3 separate regions of the Homo sapiens genome follow, and all the other regions are linked to region 3. The links are contacts of gene promoters, found by promoter capture Hi-C in human tissues and cell types (Jung and others, 2019). All regions are on one chromosome and are shown on one strand. The core of a region is centred on a gene start or on the middle of the fragment in contact, and the rest is flanking DNA. Distances in the headings are between cores, read along the strand shown.

What was found. Contacts are between HindIII fragments. The study calls those that stand out against the background at their distance.
Region 1: a contact is called between a fragment that was not itself captured here and the fragment with the promoter of PTGR1 in region 3, in 1 of the 25 tissues and cell types used here (lymphoblastoid cells).
Region 2: a fragment that was not itself captured here is called in contact with the fragment with the promoter of PTGR1 in region 3 in 1 of the 25 tissues and cell types used here (lymphoblastoid cells).

What each region holds. Positions count from the first base shown.
Region 1 is chr9:112,409,233-112,412,208 of GRCh38, reverse strand. The region is part of intron 4 of HSDL2 (hydroxysteroid dehydrogenase like 2); the gene reads right to left. Among named protein-coding and RNA genes, the nearest start is that of HSDL2, 31 kb to the right of the region's middle. The HindIII fragment of the contact is 3,136 bases long and covers 1-2,876 here.
Region 2 is chr9:110,645,829-110,648,556 of GRCh38, reverse strand. No RefSeq gene overlaps it. Among named protein-coding and RNA genes, the nearest start is that of MUSK, 22 kb to the left of the region's middle. The HindIII fragment of the contact is 4,893 bases long and covers 1-2,728 here.
Region 3 is chr9:111,598,231-111,600,952 of GRCh38, reverse strand. PTGR1 (prostaglandin reductase 1) reads left to right here and starts at 1,306. Exons shown (of 10, transcript NM_001146108.2): 1 at 1,306-1,350. RefSeq lists an enhancer at 883-1,455. The HindIII fragment of the contact is 5,410 bases long and covers 1-2,722 here.

The DNA.
Region 1 (2,976 bases), core at 59-2,558, 810 kb before region 3:
GTTTCAGGTTTCATTCTGAAATATCTGCATTATACTTAACCAGTTCAACATCACTACTCCAAAAATTTGAAATCCTTAATGTTCCAAAGAGCATTTCTTTTGAGCGTCGAGTCAGCACTCAAAAAGTTTCAGATCTCAGAGCATTCTGGATTTGGGATTTTCAGACCAGGGATACTCAACCTGTATATGTATATCTGTGGCTTCATCATCTATAATAGAAACTGCCAGAAATCATTAAACTTATTCACACAACACGCCCTTAACTAAGCCTTAGTTCAACATGTTGAGCAATAATATTCCTGGCTAGGTTTATATTTTTAAGCATTTGTTTAAACAAATACTTAACATTCAATTGAAATTCTTTCACAAAGTTGCCAGCTGTAAAATATTTTTATTCCCATATAATTTTTTCTAGTACCATGACAGTATCACATAGCAACATTGCCTATTTTATTTGAAAATAAACACAAACTCTTTCTAGTTCAAGTTTTTCATCACAATCTATATGCTTGCCATAATAGTTTTTTTCTTTTTGAGACAGAGTCTCACTCTGCTGCCCAAGCTGGAGTGCAGTGGTGTGATCTTGGCTTACTGCAGCCTCCGCCTCCTGGGTTCAAGCGATTCTCCTGCCTCAGCCTCCGGAATAGTCCAGTAACAGGTGCACACCACCACGCCTGGCTAATTTTTTGTATTTTTAGTAGAGACAGGGTTTCACCATGTTGGCCTGGCTAGTCTTAAACTCCTGACCTCAGGTGATCTGCCTGCATTGGCCTCCCAAAGTGCTGGGATTACAAGCATGAGCCACTGTGCCCAGCCATTTGCCATAATTCTTACTACAGTTGGATTCAATATGGTTTCATTCAATAGAGACCTACCTTACATATCGAATTTATAGAAATATGCCTTACATCTACAAACAAGTAAGCTTTCACCCATTTTGCTTGAACATACGGCCCTCTTGGCATAAGTCTCATTTTCCCAATTCAGAGAGAGATGTGGTTATGAGAAATATTTCACTTTCCTCTTTCATATAAGAAAAACAACAGTGTAAATGCAATGATATAACTTGTTAGTCTGTCCTCAGCATCCAGAAGACAACAGAGCTCTGGCCCCATCTGATGAGGCAGTTGATAACCCTGCCACTCAGCTACAGCAACTATTGCCATGTGGTAATGCTTCTCTATTTGGCCAGATCTTCTAAGATTTCAAGAAAAGCTAGAAATCTGGACTTTTGTATAAATCTTCTAATTTTTTCAACATAAGCAACCAATAAAGTTTTTGAGACAGGGTCTCGCTCTGTCACCCAGGCTGGAGTGCAGTAGGGTGATCTCAGCTCACAGCAACGTCCACCTCCCAGATTCAGACAATCCCCCCACTTCAGCTTCCTAAGTAGCTGGGACTACAGGCACGTGTGCCACCATCCCCAGCTAATTTTTCTATTTTTTGTAGAGACAGGGTTTTGCCATGTTGTCTAGGCTGGTTTCGAACTCCTGGGCTCAAGTGACCCGCCTGGCTCAGCCTCCCAAAGTGCTGGGATTACAAGCATGAGCCGCCATGCCTGGCCCTAACTAATAAAACTTTGAATGTAGGTAACTAATGAAAACAATTTTGTTTTAACACTGTCTGGGCCAAGTTTTGCAGACCCAACAAAACATACCTGAGGGAAAAATTCAGGACTCTAACTTAATAACTTAGACATTTAACCCTCGTGACCAACCCTATAACATATTACTGTATTATTGCCATTTTAAAAGTAAAGAAACTGAATCTGCAAGAAGTTAAGTTACTTGTCCAAGGTCACAAAATAGAAAGTCATGAGGGGTGAGTGTTAAGATTTGAATCCAAGCAGTCTTACTCCAGAGCCTAAGCTCCTAACCACCTATTCTGTGTGTTAACAAGATACATGTAAGGTACAGAAGCAAGTTCTAACCTGATGTATCCTGATATCCACATGGAAAATATAGAACCAGAGGGTAAATAAACAGATAAATAAATGGACAATAAGACAGGTTGTCTGATGAATCCAGAACAGATCAAGACTATGTTCTTTCATTCGATAGTCTACATTTCCCCGGCAAAGCCCAAGAAAGTATTAGTGTTTTTATTGGTTACAATAAAGTGTGATTCATAATGAGAATGACCTTACTGTTATTTAAATAACTAAAACCTACGTCTTTTTTTTTTTTTAACGCCAGGTCTTTTTCAGAGGAAGGAGACTATTGCTGGCTTCAGTAATCCTAAATAGTCCTATGAAAGGACTGTGTCCTATGAAAGACAGAGTATACATGTAAGTATTTACACATGCAAATATTTGAGAAAATGCTTGAGCTACACTTTAGTCTTTTTTTTTTTTCTTTGGAGACAGTCTTTCTCTGTTACCCAGGCTGGAGTGCAGTGGCATGATCACAGCTCATTGTAGCCTCAAACTCCTGGGCTCAAGGGATCCTCTTGCCTCAGTCTCCTGAGTAGATGAGACCACCACCACAGTCTCAGTAGCACACAAACCACTATGCCTGCCTGATTTTAAAAACTTTTTTTTGTAGAGACAGCGTCTTGCCATCTTGTGCATCTCAGTCTCAATCTCCTGGCCTCCAATAATACTCCCCTCACCCAAAGTGCTGAAATTACAGGTGTGAGCCACTGCACTCAGCCTACTTTAGTCTTTCCTAAATTCATAGAGAAAAGGAGCTCCAAATAAAGCTATTTAAAATACTATCGGGCTGGGCATGGTGGCTCATGCCTGTAATCCCAGCACTTTGGGAGGCCAAGGTGGGTGGATCACCTGAGGTAAGGAGTTTGAGACCAGCCTGGCCAACATGGTAAAACCCTGTCTCTACTAAAAATACAAAAAATCAACTGGGCATGGTGGTGGGCGCCTGTAATCCCAGCTACTCAGGAGGCTGAGGCAGGAGAATCGCTTGAACCTAGGAGGCAAAGGTTGCAGTGAGCTGAGATCGTGCCACTGCACTCCAGCCT
Region 2 (2,728 bases), core at 13-2,512, 950 kb after region 3:
AAATGTTTTGTTTTTGTTTTTTGAGTCAGTGCCTCCCTCTCTTGCCCAGGCTGGTGCAGTGGCACAATCATAGCTCACTCTAGCCTCGAACTCCTGGGCTCAAGTGATCCTTCTGCCTCAGCCTCCAGAGTAGCTGGGACTACAGGAGCACACCACTATGCCCAGCTAATTTTTTTTTTAAATGTATAGATGTGGGTTTTGCTGTGTTGTCCAGGCTGGTCTTGAACTCCTGGGCTCTAGTGATCCTCCCACCTTGGCCTCCCAAAGTGCTGGGATTACAGGCATGAGCCACAGTGCCTGGCCTGGAATTTTTTTTTTTCCCCAAAAGTTTTGCTTAATGAAAAAGTGCATTTCTACTGTCTCCTGGGCATTTAGAGTTTTCACAGACATAAGCATGTAAAATTTTCTTGTCATAACTGATGAAGATTCAGTGCTGGGATCCCGCCAAAGTGATGTCCTAGTAGTTGGCACTCAGCTTCCCTGTGTTGTTGCCTGTTCTGATTGGCGTCTTGCTCCCCGTAAACAGAGGTCATTGATCACAACTACTCTTCGAACATACTCATTAGTATCAACCACCTTCTGCATTTGTACCTGATGCTCTCTACATTTCTCTTACCTGGTTGAAAACCCTAGTTCCAACCTTTTCCATCACCATGACTTACATGCTAGGCCCTGTGCTATCTCACAGCTGAATCGGGTTAAAAATGTGACCTAATTAATCGTGTGGTACACACAGGCCTAAATCCTATTTTGAATACAAGCCAATTGTATTTCTTTCAAATGGGTGTCATAAAAGCTTTAGCAAGAACTTCTCATAGCTCAAAGAGAGACATGCCTGATTTATGATTTCTTGATAGCACTTAACATTTTATTTGGATTTAGAGATAACTCTAGATACATCAATCAAACAAGCTGTTTTCAAATCCTTCTGCTCAGCTGTTCCCGGTGCCAGATTGTCTAACAAATAGAAGCATAAACAGATGTAATTTGTGACTTGTGGAGACCATTCTCTGTCATGCAATAGGCCAGCTGGTGGCACGAGCCATAGTACAGTCCACAGCCTGACTCACAGGCATCAGGCTTCTCACTCCTCATACACGTGAGCAATGTTTAAAGATCACAGTTACATAAAAGTTTATTCTGGAAAATTCATTTAAATATTTGCTTACAAACTTGATTGTTGAAAGATGGTATTTTATCATAACATGTATCCTCATAATCAGACCTTGCAAAGTAGAACTTTTGTTACCTGATTTAAAAAAATGTAGCTATGGTAATTTGTAAAATAAAACTTTGGCAAAAGAACCAACAGCATGTATGATTGATAGCCCAGAAAAATGACATATACTAATATGTATGCACACACTTACATGCATATATACACATATATCTGTGTGTACATGTATGTATATATATATATGTCTATATATGTCATGTACCATTATGTATGTGTTGTGTGTGCGTGTATATACAACATATACATACATATTTGGTATATGATAAAGTTATCACAATTTTGTGAATAGAAAGGATTATTTGGAAAAGTTGCACCAGGATCTTTTCTTTTTTTTTTTTTCAAAACAGGATACAAGATCTATATACAAAAATCAAGTGATTTAATTTCTATATAATGGCTATTAAAAATCTTTATTATTATACTTTAAGTTTTAGGGTACATGCGCACAACGTGCAGGTTTGTTACATATGTATACATACACCATGTTGGTGTGCTACACCCATTAACTCATCATTTACATTAGGTATATCTCCTAATGCTTTCCCTCCCCCCTCCACCCTCCCCTCACCCCATGACAGGCCCTGGTGTGTGATGTTCCCCTTCCTGTGTCCAAGTGTTCTCATTGTTCAGTTCCCACCTATGAGCGAGAACATGTGGTGTTTGGTTTTTTGTCCTTGCGATAGTTTGCTGAGAATGATGGTTTCCAGCTTCATCTATGTCCCTACCAAGGGCATGAGCTCATCCTTTTTTATGGCTGCATAGTATTCCATGGTGTATATGTGCCACATTTTCTTAATCCAGTCTATCATTGATGGACATTTGGGTTGGTTCCAAGTCTTTGCTATTGGGAAAAGTGCCATAATAAACATATGTGTACATGTGTCTTTATAGCAGCATGATTTATAATCCTTTGGGTATATACCCAGTAATGGGATGGCTGGGTCAAATGGTATTTCTAGTTCTAGATCCTGTCTTCCACAATGGTTGAACTAGTTTACAGTCCCACCAACAGTGTAAAAGTGTTCCTATTTCTCCACATTCTCTCCAGCATCTGTTGTTTCCTGACTTTTTAATGATCGCCATTCTAACTGGTGTGAGATGGTATCTCATTGTGGTTTTGATTTGCATTCTCTGATGGCCAGTGATGATGAGCATTTTTTCATGTGTCTGTTGGCTGCATAAATGTCTTATTTTGAGAAGTGTCTGTTCATATCCTTTGCCCACTTTGTGATGGTGTTGTTTTTTTCTTGTAAATTTGTTTGAGTTCTTTGTAGATTCTGGATATTAGCCCTTTGTCAGATGAGAAGATTGCAAAAATTTTCTCCCATTCTGTAGGTTGTCTGTTTGCTCTGATGGTAGTTTCTTTTGCTGTGCAGAAGCTTTTTAGTTTAATTAGATCCCATTTGTCAATTTTGGCTTTTGTTGCCATTGCTTTTGGTGTTTTAGACATGAAGTCCTTGCCCATGCCTATGTCCTGAATGGTATTGCCTA
Region 3 (2,722 bases), core at 57-2,556:
GTTAAAATCCCCAAGTCCCAGTACTCAGAATGTAACTGTATTTGTAGATAGGGCCTTTAAAGAGGTAATTAAGGTTACATGAGGCCATATTAGTGAGCCCTAATCCATTTGACAGTATTTGAAGACAAGGCCTTCAAAGACGTGTTTAAGTTAAACGGAGGCTGACAAGTGGGGCTCTAATCCAATATGGCGGGTATCCTTACAAGGAGAGACATTGAGCCAGGTGTGGTGGTGGGCCTGTAATCCCAGCTTCTAGGGAGGCTGAAGGAGGATCACCTGAGTCCAGGAGTTCAAGGCTGCAATGAGCTATGATGCCCACCATTGCACTCCAGCCTGGGTGACAGAGCAAGACCTCAAAATAATTAAAATTAAATAAATAAATTAAAGACATTGAATCTTCACAATGACTGGAAGTTAGGCATTCTTCTTATCCCCATCTTGCAGATGGCTGAACTGAGTGAGGCAAGGAGAAGGTAAGTAAGTCTTTGAAAGCTACACCACTAGTAAGTGGCAGGTGCAGGCTTCGAACCTGCAGTCGTCTAATACCAACGACTTAGCTTCACGTTCAACCCCTGCCTGAGACCACCTCTCCTTGCAGAAGCCAGGTCAAGGCCTGATGTTTGCTAGGGTGTGATGGGTGGGGTGCCTCAGTGGCAAGAGTGCTCACTCCTGCCTGGGGGAGTCTGGCAAGGGTTCACAGAGGTGACCTTGAATTGGCTGGTGGAAGGCGAGTAGGTGTTCAGCAGGCGGACTGGGGACAGACAGGCAGGGTGTCTGCACCGCAGCCCTGGGCGAAAGCTTGCACTGCGGGCAAGCGGCAGGGCTGACGGGGAGCCCAGGGATCGGAGCCAGCACCGGGGGCTTATTAGGGCTGCGGCCGCCCCAGGCCCTGCCTTTGGACCCTTCCGGCCTGCTTGGCAGATGCCACGGTTGGTTCCCCCACGGGGCATATTTCCGCCGGGCTCCAACTTAGGACCCCAGGCGGAGGTCCAGTGTCAGCTGGACAAAGCTCTGTTAGGAATTTTCCTATCAGGAGTCCCTAACCCCCTACACGCACACACACGGGCGCGCGGGCGCGCACGCACACACACGCACACATGCACACATACGCGCGCGCACATGCACATAGGCACACAGAGATACGCGCACACACACACACAAACGCACTCAGATTTCCCGGACCCTGGTTTTCCTCCTGTGACCCTTTCGGGGCCGGGCTCTCACCCTAAAGAAGCAGCCCCGCCCTGGGGTGGCCCCACCCTCTCTTGGGACCTGTCATAAGTCGGACCCCGGGCGCCCGGCTGCGCAGTCCCAGCCGCCTTCCCCAGGCAGTGGAACCTTCGGGCTCCTGTAAGTAGACCTCCTGCTTTCTTTCCTTCCCTTTTCTCCCTCCTCTAACCCCCTTGCTTTCTTCCTGCCAAGTTTCTAGACGCCCCAGTGGAGGAGGTTTGCTCTTAGACCTCCTCCCCTTACGTCGAAATGACCGCTGGGTCTTGCACTCGGAGGATCTTGGGAGCCGACGTCCCGACGCCTCCCGCCCCCGCAGTTCCTTGGAGAGCTTGGAGCCGCGCGCCGGAGGGAATAGGAAAGCTTGGTTACAACCCGGGACACCCGGTAGCTTCCTGCACCCGGGAGGGGGCTGGCCAGGGAACTTGCTGGACTGCACAACTGGGGGAGGGTAGAAGAAGAAAGATCGGGGTGGGGATTCGGGAATGGGCAAGCGGGCGGCGGGCGGCGGGAGGCGAGGGTGGGAGCAAAGGGCGAGCGGGCAAAGGCCGGGCGCCGCGCCAGGCCCCCTCCTCGGGCGGGCGAGACTTTCCCGGGACCTGGCCCCTCTGCGGCCAGACCCTTTCCAGGAGGGCTTCTGGACTTGTAGCGAGTTTGGAAGCCCAGCGGTTGCTTTTTTGGGGAAAGGGACAAAGATGTGTGAACTCTAAAGAAGTTGAACTCATAGAAATAACGACTAGAATGATGGTTGCCAGAGGCTGGGAGCGGGTTCGGGGGGGAATGGGGGCTTGTTGGCCAAAGGGTACGAAGTTCAGAGACGAGAGGAGTAGGTTCTGAGATCTGTTGCACAGCAGAGTGACTAGAGCCAATAATGTGTATTTCGAAATAACAGAGTAAACTGCAAATGTCTCACCGTAAAAATGATACGTAGGGCCTGGCGCGGTGGCTCACGCCTGTAATCCCAGCACTATGGAAGGTCGAGGCGGGCGAATCATTTGAGCTCAGGAGTTCTAGACCAGTCTGGCCAACATGGGGAAACCCCGTCTCTACTAAAAGTACAAAAATTAGCTGGGCGTGGTGGCGGGCGCCTGTAATCCCAGCTACTCAGGAGGCTGAGACAGGAGAACCGCTTGAACCCGGGAGACGGAGGTTGCAGTGAGCTGAGATCGCGCCATTGCACTTCAGCCTGGGCGACAGAGCGAGACTCCGTCACAAAAAAAGTCTTAATTTTAAAAAAAGAAAAGAAGGAACAACCCCGGGCTGCAGATCAGACCGCCCCCCTGGCTCCCTCGCAATGCGGGAGTGCTCCCTCCAGGTCACCGTGTCCCCTCCCGCGGCACCGGTAGGGGAGCTGGGGAGATCACTGGCAGCTCCAAATGGTTTCGTAACTGGATTGTTTGTAGCGGATGCACCCGCGGGAAGGCGCAGGTCCCAAGTGATTCGGCAGAGTTCAGTCCAAGCAGAACATCCTGAACCCCCAGCTCGGGGCAGCCTT